Regions from separate parts of the Homo sapiens genome. Here all the other regions are linked to region 3. The links are contacts of gene promoters, found by promoter capture Hi-C in human tissues and cell types (Jung and others, 2019). All regions are on one chromosome and are shown on one strand. The core of a region is centred on a gene start or on the middle of the fragment in contact, and the rest is flanking DNA. Distances in the headings are between cores, read along the strand shown. Region 1 holds the start of NLRP6 (NLR family pyrin domain containing 6). Region 2 holds the start of POLR2L (RNA polymerase II, I and III subunit L). Region 3 holds the start of RASSF7 (Ras association domain family member 7). Region 4 overlaps CHID1 (chitinase domain containing 1).

Region 1 (3,019 bases), core at 181-2,680, 280 kb before region 3:
TGATCCAATCACCTGCCACCAGGTCTCTCCCCCAACATTGGGAATTACAATTCAACATGAGATTTGGGTGGGGACACACAGCCAAACTGTTATCAGAAAGAGGTCTTGATCCAGACATCATGGTTCTTGGATCTCATGCAAGAAAGAATTTGAGTCAAATCCATAAAGAGTAAAGTGCCAGGCATGGTCGCTCACACCAGTAATCCCAGCACTTTGGGAGGTCCAAGGCAGGCAGATCACAAGGTCAAGAGTTCAAGGCCAGCCTGACCAACATGGTGAAACCCCGTCTCTACTAAAAATACAAAAATTAGCCAGGCATGGTGGTGCATGCCTGTAATTCCAGCTACTCAGGAGGCTGAGGCAGGAGAATTGCTTGAACCCAGGAGGCGGAGTTTGAAGTGAGCCGAGATCGTGCCACTGCACTCCGCCTGGCGACAGAACGAGACTCCATGAAAAAAAAAAAAAAAAAAAAAAGAGTAAAGTGAGAGCAAGTTTATTGAGAAAGTAAAGGAATAAAAGAATGGCTATTCTATAGGCAGAGCAGCCCCAAAGGCTGCTGGTTGCCCATTTTTATGGTTATTTCTTGATTATATGCTAAACGAGGAGTGGATTATTCATGAGTTTTCCAGGAAAGTGGTGGGCAATTCTCAGAACTGAGGGTTCCTCCCCTTTTAGACCATATAGGGTAACTTCCTGACTTTGCCATGGCATTTATAAACTGTCATCGTGTTGGTGGGAGTGTCTTTTAGTGTGCTAATGTACTGTAACTAGAGTAATGAGCTGTGAGGATGACCAGAGGTCACTCTCATTGCCATCTTGGTTCTGGTGGTTTTGGGCCAGCTTCTTTACACCATTATCAGCAAGGCCTTTATGACCTGTATCTTGTGTCAACCTCCTGTCTCATCCTGTGACTTAGAATGTCTACCCTCCTGGGAATGCAGCCCAGTAGGTCTCAGCCTTATTTTACCCAGCACCTCTCATTTCCACATATTAACCCCCCCGTTCCACACACTCTCACATTTGGTCCCAGGGGTCTCGAACACCCCTGACGTCCAGCCTCTGCCCGCCAGCTGTTCAGGTCGGGTGGGGAGGCTGCAGTGCAGACCCCTGCCCGGCGTCTCCCTGGAGACTGCCTTCCCTCCCATATATGGTGCGTGCTGCTGGCTGTCCCCCCTGTTCCCTCTACCTGGAAGTCTTTCCTCACCCCTGCCTTCAGAGTCTAACCTCTCCCCAGGCCTCAGCTGAAGGCCTGGCTCTGAGCCAGCCACCTCCTTCACACAACCCACCTTGCTCTGAAGCTGCCTGCTCACAGCCATGCCCCGATGCCACACCCAGGGGTTCTTGGGGAACATTAATGGGATAAAGGAGTAAGAAAATCAAAGGTCACCAAACGGAGCCCTTAAAGGGCAATGCTCTGCGTGTGCCACGGTGCCCAACAGCATCTCGTGCCAGCTGAGCTGCGGTGTGTGGACCCGGGGAATGGACCGGGCTGGACAACCTCTAAGACTTGGCTCCAGCTCAGCCTGTGAAGGAATCACCTCTCTGATCCCCACCTCTGCCCCGGAGTGCTAGACCCAGGGAGGAAGAGACCCCATGGACCAGCCAGAGGCCCCCTGCTCCAGGTGAGTGCTGGCCCCAGGGTGGTCACTGGGAACCGGCTGGTCTCAGCCCTCTGGGGCCTCCACCTCACCCGCTGACTTCCTCAGGCTCTCCACCCTTGTCCACATCCTTCCCCCACCCTCACTCCCAGGCTCAGGAGCCAAGCACTGCCTCCCCACAGAGGGCATTTGTGGAGTCTGTTCCCCACCAGGGGCTCAGATTCAGGCCCTGGTGCAAGGCCCCAAGCTGGGCCCCACCAAAGTGTGGCAGGGGTGGGGGCCCAGGAATACAGCCTGGGCCTGGCAGTGTCTGCTGCCAAAGAGGCCAGTTCTGCTCCGGGATCGGGAAGAGAGGGAAAAGAAGGAAAGCGAGGAAAGAGAGCTCAGGGTTCCTTGGAAATACCTCCCTCGGGGCATGTGACCTGTCCTGGGGTGTGGAAGGACAGAAGCAGAAAGGGAGGTGCAGGGGAGGAAGGTGCCCCCCAGAGCTCAGATCAGCGGCGGCCAGTGCCCACTTCACCCTCAGAGGGCGAAGAACACCAAGACGCCCCGACCCGGGTCCGGGGACGGGGGAGGGAAAAGTCTGGGGTCACTCCCCGTTGCCCCCTCCCGCCACCCCATGGATCCAGACGATGCTTGGCCCGGGACTCCCTGAGGCCCTGCCCGCGGTGGGTTCTCCGGCGCCAGAGTCGGGGGCGGGCGGGGGTCACCCGAGGGCCGCTCCCCGATGACCCGCGCCCGCCCGCCTCCAGCACGGGGCCGCGCCTCGCGGTGGCCCGCGAGCTGCTCCTGGCTGCGCTGGAGGAACTGAGCCAAGAGCAGCTGAAGCGCTTCCGCCACAAGCTGCGCGACGTGGGCCCGGACGGACGCAGCATCCCGTGGGGGCGGCTGGAGCGCGCGGACGCCGTGGACCTCGCGGAGCAGCTGGCCCAGTTCTACGGCCCGGAGCCTGCCCTGGAGGTGGCCCGCAAGACCCTCAAGAGGGCGGACGCGCGCGACGTGGCGGCGCAGCTCCAGGAGCGGCGGCTGCAGCGTGAGTTCTGCGCGGGAGGTCCCTCCTGTCTGGGCAGAGGCTGGGCTGCCCTCCTTCCCGCTTCCCGGAGAAGCCCCGGCGCGGTCCCCGGCCCCCGCGCGTTTTATCCACAAATTCGCGGGCCCCAGGGGTAGGACCCTGCGTGCTCCTCAGGGTGACTCGGACCCCCGTGGCGCCTTCCCCTGTTCCCGCCCTCGGCGGAACCTCACCCCAGTTTCCCTTCCAGGGCTCGGGCTCGGCTCCGGGACGCTGCTCTCCGTGTCCGGTGGGTCTCTCGCTGGGGGGGCACGAGTGTCCCCAACCCCACTTGGAGGGTCCCGGGGAGGACCGGGGTGGGAGGGCCGCCAGGGGCGTGGGCTGTGGTCCCGTAGAGGAAACTGAGGCCTGA
Region 2 (2,963 bases), core at 450-2,949, 280 kb after region 3:
CATCCAGCACTGGCCACGGCAGGGTAGCTCTCCAGGGGCCTGCCCTTAGCTGGTTCACCCCCACCCCAGCCAGAGCAAGCCCTGCTCTGCCGCTGTGGGGTCTTTCCTCACCTCTGCTTCCTTCCATCAGAGAGAGACTGCTTCTCCACGGAGCCACCTCTCCCACTTCCCAAGCCAATTAGAAGCTTTCATTTCCCTGGGACCTAGCTCCAGTCACCCTCAAGACCTCCAGAAAACTCCCACACCGATGGCTCCAATGTGCAGAGACACAGAAGCTTGGGAAAGGGGAGGCCACATGGGAGGCCCCTGCCGTTCCTATCCGGGGAAAGGGTCTGGACAGGCCGCCAGCCACTCAGTCTAGCAGCCCACTCGCTTTCCTCGTTTGTCCAGCAAGCTGCACCAAGTGCCGATGGCAGGCTGGCGCACACAAGCCCAGGGCTTCACATGTGACGAAGACTCAGTGGGCGAGGGTCAGACTCCAGCGGGGGCACCAAGACTCAGGCACCGTGGTGACAGCAGCACCAAGGGACAAGCACAGGAGAAAGACGCCTCCCCTACAAAGCCTGATGAGGGTGGTCAGCAAGTCTACCCTGCATTTCTTTTTCTGTGTGTGTGTGTGCGTGAGACGGAGTTTCACTCTCTCTTCCAGGCTGGAGTGCAGTGGCGTGATCTTGGCTCACTGCAACCTCCACCTGCCTCCCAGACTCAAGCGATTTTCTCGTCTCAGCCTCCCAAGTAGCTGGGACCACAGGTGTGCACCGCCATGTCCGGCGAATTAAAAAGATAGAGCCAGGCGCGGTGGCTCACGCCTGTAACCTCAGCACTTTGGGAGGTCGAGGCGGGTGGATCACCTGAGGTCAGGAGTTCCAGACCAGCCTGGCCAACATGGCGAAATCCCATCTCTACTGAAAATACAAAAATTAGCCGGGCGTGGTGGCACACGCCTGTAGTCCCAGCTACTCGGGAGGCTGAGACAGGAGAATTGCTGGAGCCCAGGAGGCGGGGGTTGCAGTGAGCCGAGATCGCGCCACTGCACTCCAACCTGGGCGACGGAGCGAGACTCCGTCTCAAAAAAGAAAAATAAAATAAAATAAATTTCTGGAGATCAGGGTCTCCCCAGGTTGTCCAGGCTGGTCTCGACCTCCTGGGCTCAAGCAAGCCTCTCGCCTCGGCCTCCCAAACTGCTGGGATTACAGATGTCAGCCGCCGCGCCCGCCCGTCCTGCAGCGAGGTTTGCAGGACATGGGGTGGGCCTGGGGGCAGAGATGGGAATAGGGCGGAGGCCAAGGGCTTTACTGCGGGTGACAAGACGCCTGCGACCCGCCAGGCCACCTAGAATCCCCAGGACACCACTGGTTTGAAGCCCAACTCCGTTCTCTTCCCCAGACTTCAGGGGATAAGGTTCTCCCGAAAGCAGATCACAGAGCGGGGCTGGAGAAGCCGGGCCTGAAGCTGCTCATGGGGCGCTGGCCTCAGGCAGCGCTGCGCCTCCCGCCCCGGCGCGCACCCCAGGGCGGACTCAGCCCCCAGCCCCGGCCCGCGCCCCACGGCGGACTCAGCCCCTAGCCCCGGCCCGCGCCTCACCCCTCGGTGTACTCGGCCTGCAGCAGCCCCAGGTAAGCCTCCCACTTGTTGCCGACGATCTTGCCACAAGTGAAGCAGCGTACAGGGATGATCATGGCGGCGGCGCGTCCCAGACTGCCCGGCCCGGCCCGGCCGCACGCGAAGAACCCCCCCAGGCCCCGCCCCGGGCGCGTCCACTGTTGCGGGAGAATCGGCTCCGCTCGTTCTCCGCTGTTCCGGCCGTCCCTCCACCGGCCCCGCCACCGCTGGCCGCAGTTTCCGCCGCGATAGGGGCTTCCCGTGCGTCCCGGGGCTCCTGGGCCTGTGCGTCCCGGGGCTCCCGGGCCCGCGCGGCCGCGGCAGCAGCAGACCGCACACCCCCGCCCACCGTCTTGGTGCATCCCGGCGCTACGGCGTCTGAGCAGGGCCGTAAAGCTGCGGCGGCGGTTCGCGTTTCTCGTGTCCGCTTGACTGACAGCTGCGCGGCGGGAGCGGGCGGCGCGAGCGGGAGGCGGCGGCGCAGGTACTGCGCCTGGGGGTTGTGGGGGCGTGCGGCCAGGGTCCCGTGGCCGGAGGTGTCCGACCGGGAGCGGCTGGAGCCGGACGCGAGCGGGGCGCGCGAGTTCGAGCCCAGAGCCGACACGCAGCAACAAGTGGGGTCCGGCGCGGGGGCTCGGGGAGAGGGCGGGCGGGGGCCGGGGCGGGTCTTCCTGCCGCCCCTCCTGGCCGCGCCGAGTAGTGGGTTCCTCCGCCTCGGCCTCTGCCCGCGGGGTGTCCGGGGCTCTCGGCGCTGAGTTCGGGGGTCCCATTCTGGACGCGGCCCAGCCCCTAGGGGCGCCGCCCTGGCCTCAGCTGCGCAATTACAGCCCCCGCCGGCAGCTCCCCGCCCCGGGCTCCTGTCCGCGTTCTTTCCGCTCTTTCCCGGGAATGGGGTCGGGGTGCGCCCTCCCGGGTCCCGGCTCTGCTGGCTGCTCGCCGTCCCGAGCTCCCGACGCTCAGACGCGCCTCTGAGCACGGGGAGAGGGGACCCGGGAGGGAGGTCGGGGAGGGAGTCGTGGAAGAGGTGCTTTTTGAGCTGAACCTGGAAGACCCCGGCACAGGGGATCCCTGGGCAGACTCCCGGAGGCTGCACTGGCAGGACCCCCTGAAGGCCTCAGCTCTGGCTTGCCCTGGAGCTCAGGGCCTACGGACGACGAGGGACGAGGAGCCCGTGTCTCTCGGATGGAGTGCGGGGGGGCTGGCACCAGCACCCTTCTTGCTGTGCCCCTGGGGTGGGGGTGAGGAAATGGGGGGTCGGTGTGCAGTGAGAGGCAAAGAAGGCTCCTTGGAGGTGCGAGGTGGGCTGTGGGGGTGGGTGGGCCGCAAAGCGGCACCCATGGGGGGCTCTGGGCTGGTTTGCC
Region 3 (2,996 bases), core at 497-2,996:
CACCACCCGACATGTCCCTGGCGTGTACCCCTGCCACCCAGGTGCTGGCCCTTTGCCTGTGATGTGGTGTCCCTCTTTCTCTCTCTTGTCCCCCCAGCTCAGGGCCCTACCCCCAGCACTCACCTGAGGCCCGACCTCCAAGCAGGCCTGGGAGGGAAGGGCTGTATACCGTTGCCATGGATACCAGCACCCAGAAGGGGTGGGGCTGTTTGTTACCAGGAGCCTCCAGGGAGACCCCAGACCAGGCCCCTAGGTGAGTTCTGGGCCAGCCCAGCCTGGAGGAGGTGTGAGAGGCTGAGCCACTGCTCAGCTTAGCGGGGGGACCACTTAGTGACCAACACCCTGAGGGAGGCCCCAGCATCCCCTACCTAGCCTGGCAGCAGCAGCGGGATAAATAGGGGGGCACTGCTGCCTGTGAGCCAGCCCAGCATAGCCATGGGTGTGTGGGGGAAGCAGACAGGTAACAGTGACAAGCTGGGGACTGTGCTGAACGCTAACTGGCAATAGTACACTCCTGCCCACAGCCTGTTTTTAAATTAATAATTAATTCTTTAGAGACAGGGTCTTGCTCCGCTGTCCAGGCTGGAATGCTTCGGTGTGATGACAGCGCACGTTAACCTCGAATTCCTGGGCTCAGGTGATCCTCCCACTTCCGCCTCCTGACTTGCTGAAACTACAGGCACCCGCCTCCACCGCCAGGCCCAGCCCACAGCTCCTTTGACCTCAGTGACAGGCACTCACCTACCTGACCCCCAAACTGAAGCCTCACTTTTCCCAGCCGTGTCCACACCCTCTGGGCTACCCCATTACCATGACAAGTATTCCCTCTGCTCCAGGAGAAAAGCCAGGTCCCAGACCTGACCCATTAAAACCCAATCATTCCAGCTTTCACCCTTCATCTCTGCAACTTTCGGCTATGTAAGGGCTCCCTGGGGGAGCACAGGAGACAGGCGGGCAGGAGGCCCACGCCCACAACTCTTTCTGAGCTGGGCAGAACAATCAATGGCCCACACAGCTGACCGCGAGGCTGCGGGGCCCTGGGCGGGACAGTAGGGTAGGGGGTGAAGGAGCGGCTTCCAGCCAGCTTCACTGTGTGCATGGCCTGGCACTGGGTCCAAAAGGGGCAGGAAGGTGTCGGAGAAGAGCCTCAGCTAGAGTCCGGGCCTTCTGAGCGGGCACCTCCCGCACCAGGACTCTGCGCCCGCCAGCTCCGCAGGGCTCCACCTCCCTCGCCGGGACTGGTGACCCTGCGACCCCGCGACCCCTGCGCGTCCAGACTACTGCAGCTGCGGTAGGCCCCAAAGGCTGGCCCGGGAAGCGAGGGGAGGGGCTGGCCCCGCTGCCCCTGGACGCAGGCGGGGGTTGCGGGATCTCAAGCCAGAGACCCTTCCTGGGCGGGAACCCGCCACACTAGAAGGCTGCTGAGGAAGTCGGCCCAGGAGCGGGGCCAGACACCTACCCCGACGCCTGCCCGCGGGCCGCAGCCACCGCATTTCCGCGTTTTTCGCGGTAGGCGGGAGGTGGGGGCGGGGACTGCGGCTCGGCGCCCCCCTCCGACCCGCCCACACCTGTAGTCTCGGGGGGGGCGGGGCGCGGCGACGAGCCAATGGGTCGGGGAGGGGCGTGACAGAGGCAGCCAATGGGCGCGGGGAGGGGGCGGAACGCCCGCGCTGAGCAGCCAATAGGGGTGCTAGGGGCGGGGCGTGCGGACCGCGGGCCAATGGGGGCGCGGGGCCCGGGTGCGCCGCGGCGCTGGGGGCGGCAGGTTGCGGCGGCGCCGGAGCGGGTCTCCAGGCTGGCGAGCGCCCAGGTGAGCCGCGCCGGGTCCCCGGTACTTGGGAGCGCGGGGCGCGCCTCGAGCCGGCCGGACGCCGACTCCAACTGGGGAGAGTTTTCCGCGATGCCCGGACGGAGAGCGGGGGCGGCGCCGCACCTGCGCCCGCCCTGCGGAACGGGGACGCCCTGGCTCCCGCCAGGCTGGGGTCGCGGCGCGGGCTTCGGTGCCCGCGGCGGGGACCGGGACTTTCGGGGCGAGCGCAGCGATTAGGCGGCAGCGGCGGGGCTCCCCGGGCTGGCGGGGGCTGCTCAGACCCGGAGTCTGCTCCATCTGCAGGGTCGAGGTCTGGGTTGCGACCCCGAGCGCCTCTGCGGCCTGAGCAGGTCGGGGTGGGGCGTTCCCATGCCGGCGGCCGCGGGGCCTGGCGTGCGGGCGCCTCCGCGCCGCCCGGGGAGGGGGCAGTGTCCTCCGAGCCAGGTGAGGCGAGTAGGAAATGCTGGATCTGGTTAATGATTCGCCTTGTTCCGGGAGTGCGAGCGTGGCAAGAGGAAGCTGGTGAAGTGGGGGAGGATGCGTGCTCCGGAGGGCCGCCACCCCAGGAATGTGTGGCTGGCGGGTGGGGCTGGCACAGGAGGGTGGGGCCCGTGCGGAGGGGCGGCAGCCCAGCCGTTTCTAGGGCAGGCCAAGAGGATGAGGAGAGGAGGACCAGCCTGCGATAGGAGTAGGCAGGTCCTGACCCGGTGCCTGCGCCCTCCCCACAGGACAGGCATGTTGTTGGGACTGGCGGCCATGGAGCTGAAGGTGTGGGTGGATGGCATCCAGCGTGTGGTCTGTGGGGTCTCAGAGCAGACCACCTGCCAGGAAGTGGTCATCGCACTAGCCCAAGCAATAGGTGAGTCCTCTCGGGGTCAGGCAGGCCGGGCAGGTAGAGCTGAAGTGGGACCTGGTGGTCCAGCTCCATGGTCTCCCCCAAGGAGAGTGGGGCTGGTTGCTGATCCTTTTTGTTCTTCCCAACTCTTCAAGCCAGGTGGACAGAGAGTCGGGGGGACATAGGCTGACCTTCTCCTCTTCTTCCCAGGCCAGACTGGCCGCTTTGTGCTTGTGCAGCGGCTTCGGGAGAAGGAGCGGCAGTTGCTGCCACAAGAGTGTCCAGTGGGCGCCCAGGCCACCTGCGGACAGTTTGCCAGCGATGTCCAGTTTGTCCTGAGGCGCACAGGGC
Region 4 (2,978 bases), core at 347-2,846, 350 kb after region 3:
TTCGAGACCAGCCTGACCAACATGGACAAACCCTGTCTCTACTGAAAATACAAAATTAGCTGGGCGTGCTGGCGCATGCCTGTAATCCCAGCTTCTCGGGACGCTGAGACAGGAGAATCACTTGAACCTGGGAAGCAGAGGTTGCGGTAAGCCGAGATCGCGCAATTGCACTCCAGCCTAGGCAACAGGAGCAAAAACTCCCTCTCAAAAACAAAGAAACAAAACAAAAAATAAATGAGCAGGCTATCTGGAATTACTGGTCATTGTTTCTTCTCTTTTACTTTATCTGTATCTTCTGGTCTTCCTGCACTAAACTTTTATTACACTGTTCACTTTCAGGTTCTAGGGGCCACCAACAAAAGTGATTCTACTTTCCGGCCGGGCGCGGTGGCTCACGCCTGTAATCCCAGCACTTTGGGAGGCCGAAGCGGGCAGATCACGAGGTCAGGAGATCGAGACCATCCTGGCTAACACGGTGAAACCCCATCTCTGCTAAAAATACAAAAAATTAGCCAGGCATGGTGGCAGGCGCCTGTAGTCCCAGCTATTCGAGAGGCTGAAGCAGGAGAATGGTGTGAATCCAGGAGGTGGAGTTCGCAGTGAGCCGAGATAGTGCCAGTGCACTCCAGCCTGGGCGACGGTGCGAGACTGTCTTTAAAAAAAAAAAAAAAGTGATTCTACTTTCTATCTTTCACTGGGGTTGGGGGCAGCGGCGGTGGGAGCTGAACCACCACCATAGCCCAGCCAGACTGTTAGTCCTTCATGAAGCTTTGGGACACTGCTGGGAAGAAGCTCTTGGCTAGTTTCACAGCTCTGGCAGCACAGACCCCTCTAGACCAGCTGAGAGGCCCACACAGCCTGGGCAGAGGCAGATACCTGACAGGTGGGGAGCTCAGCCCAACTCACTACCCAGCAGCTGGGCACATGGCCTTCCCCTTGGGTCACAGGCTCCTGAGTATATGGGAGCTCAGGCCCAAGAGGCTCCAGGAACCCCAGCCAGGCAGGTGCACCTGTCAGAAGATGCTGCCAGAGCCAGGCCTACCACAGTGCCTACCCTCCTACCCAAAAGACTCCCTGGCCAGGAACCTGTTTTCACTTCCTCTGAAACCGTCCCCTTGACCTGCTTTCTTCTGCAGAGGCACACGCTGCCCCACTTTGCCCTGTCTCTTCCCTGGGTGAGACTGGTGCTCCTGGTGCAGACTGAGGAGACTGTGGCTACCCCCAGGCAGGGAGTTTGCATGCTTTGGTACCCAATACACCCACAACACACCTGCATAGAAAGAACACGCTCCTGGAGCAAGATCAACCAGTGAAGCTCCCCCACCTAGGAGGCAGGGAGCCACAAGACAGCCTGACCTGCAGGCTTATGGGGAGTTAGGAAGGGAACTCACAGGGCAAGCACAGCAGCACCCAGTACATGGAGCCACAGGCAAAGGCAGTGAGTGCTTGAACAGCCACGGCAGTTCCGAGAGGCTGTGCAGGGGGAATAAGAAGGCCCAGGCACAGATCACCACCCTCTGCCCCGATCAACCTCTCCAGCCCCTCTCCTCAGTGATACATCCCAGAATCAGAACCAAGGGCAGCAGCCTGCTGCCACCTCCCCTTAGCCCCACTATCTTTCTGCTGCAGCTGAGGCTTGGTCTGAGTCAGCAACAGCCCCAGGGAAGGTGGGGAGGGTTCTGGCCATGGCACAGGGAAGACGGCCCAGAATCACTTGCCTGGCCAGGCTGAAACGGTGGCTGCCTCAGCTCCCAGGCACCCAGTCTTTGACCCCAGCCCATTCCATGACCACTGGCTCCTTCTCTGTCTTCTGGGTGGAAATCTGGGTCAGGGAGGAAGGAAAGGAATGAAAAACCAAACGGTGGTTCTCCAGGGGACTGGCCCAGGAGTAACTGGAGGGCACACTCAGGTACCCAGTGACCAACCACTATAGGGCTGGGTCTCTGCCCCTACCTGCCGTCCTGCAGATTTGAAACAGGGCCACTGTCCACCCACCTAGTGGCCCCTCTGCCTATGACCTCCCTGCCCCCCAACCTGTGATTTCACACTTCAGGGAAGGAAGAGGAAAGGGTGGAAGAGGAAGACAGTCCTGCCAGCATGTGTCCAGCAGAGGGGACACTAGGAGAACCTAACTGAACACAAGGCCAGGGTACTGCCTCTGTCCACTCGCGCTTAACTTGCCCGCTCTGTGATGGAGTGCTTGGATACAGGCTGCTCACAAATGCTGGGCTGCTTCTTTGACTTGCCATGGAACTTTCCAGACAACTGCCCCAGGGAGATGGTGTGTGTGATGTGTGAGGGGTGCTCACACTGCAACCAGGCCCTTGTCTGGGCTTTGGTACCTCTCCCGCTCCCCACTGCTCACCGGCCGCTCGGCTCTGAGGCCCGTGAGGACACTCTCCATCATGCTCTTCACATAACACAGACTCCCAGGTTCACACACACTGTGTTCCTGCATCAAACCGTTTCTTCCCCAAATGCCAATGACCTTCCCTTGGGCAGAACGGCCCCGCACACAAAGGGAATGTGTTGTGTTATGAAGAGGCACAGGCCCCGACCCTGGTCACCCAAAGGGGTCCCAGAAACCGCTCTGTAACAAGATAAGGTGGAGCGCTACTGCTCCCACTTTCCTGCGCTCCCAGTCCGTAGGTCCAGGACCTCCTCGGTGGTGTTGATGGAAATGATGGGAGTCACAGCAGGGGCTTTCCAATGCTTTTCATGGAGACCAGCAGTAAGAAATGCACTTTACGTCACAGCCCAGCACACGTGTATGTCATGTGTGCACATGTGTTGTGCATGTGTGTACATGTGTAGAGCGACAGCAGCCAATCAGAGCTAACTCTATTCTGCGATGGACGCACTGACAACTCCTGTTCTGTTGTGTTTTGAAGAACTAACTGGTGCATGGCGGCTCTGGCCTGTGATCCTAGCACTTTGGGAGGCCAGGAGTTTTTGACTGGTTTTGGCAACACAGCCAG

The links. The method cuts DNA at HindIII sites, captures the fragments that hold promoters and counts their contacts. A contact is called where the count stands out against the background at its distance.
Region 1: a contact is called between the fragment with the promoter of NLRP6 here and the fragment with the promoter of RASSF7 in region 3, in 1 of the 25 tissues and cell types used here (lymphoblastoid cells).
Region 2: a contact is called between the fragment with the promoter of POLR2L here and the fragment with the promoter of RASSF7 in region 3, in 2 of the 25 tissues and cell types used here (psoas muscle and stomach).
Region 4: a fragment that was not itself captured here is called in contact with the fragment with the promoter of RASSF7 in region 3 in 1 of the 25 tissues and cell types used here (dorsolateral prefrontal cortex).

The regions. Positions count from the first base shown.
Region 1 is chr11:276,977-279,995 of GRCh38, forward strand. NLRP6 (NLR family pyrin domain containing 6) reads left to right here and starts at 1,431. Exons shown (of 8, transcript NM_001276700.2): 1 at 1,431-1,622; 2 at 2,351-2,631; 3 at 2,858-2,896. The coding sequence starts at 1,594. RefSeq lists an enhancer at 2,731-3,019. The HindIII fragment of the contact is 18,362 bases long and covers 1-3,019 here.
Region 2 is chr11:840,830-843,792 of GRCh38, forward strand. It overlaps POLR2L (RNA polymerase II, I and III subunit L), which reads right to left and starts at 1,700. Exons shown (of 2, transcript NM_021128.5): 1 at 1,585-1,700. The coding sequence starts at 1,679. It overlaps TSPAN4 (tetraspanin 4), which reads left to right and starts at 2,023. Exons shown (of 9, transcript NM_003271.5): 1 at 2,023-2,086. RefSeq lists enhancers at 1-703, 704-1,449, 1,450-2,193 and silencers at 1,462-2,091, 2,202-2,291, 2,312-2,541, 2,527-2,695. The HindIII fragment of the contact is 28,886 bases long and covers 1-2,963 here.
Region 3 is chr11:559,224-562,219 of GRCh38, forward strand. RASSF7 (Ras association domain family member 7) reads left to right here and starts at 1,747. Exons shown (of 6, transcript NM_003475.4): 1 at 1,747-2,254; 2 at 2,539-2,669; 3 at 2,856-2,996. The coding sequence starts at 2,546. It overlaps LMNTD2 (lamin tail domain containing 2), which reads right to left and starts at 1,515. Exons shown (of 14, transcript NM_173573.3): 1 at 1,460-1,515. The coding sequence starts at 1,493. LMNTD2-AS1 (LMNTD2 antisense RNA 1) reads left to right here and starts at 39. Exons shown (of 2, transcript NR_147607.1): 1 at 39-253; 2 at 556-883. RefSeq lists an enhancer at 2,550-2,996. The HindIII fragment of the contact is 35,948 bases long and covers 1-2,996 here.
Region 4 is chr11:906,824-909,801 of GRCh38, forward strand. The region is part of intron 1 of CHID1 (chitinase domain containing 1); the gene reads right to left. Among named protein-coding and RNA genes, the nearest start is that of CHID1, 2.5 kb to the right of the region's middle. The HindIII fragment of the contact is 5,018 bases long and covers 1-2,978 here.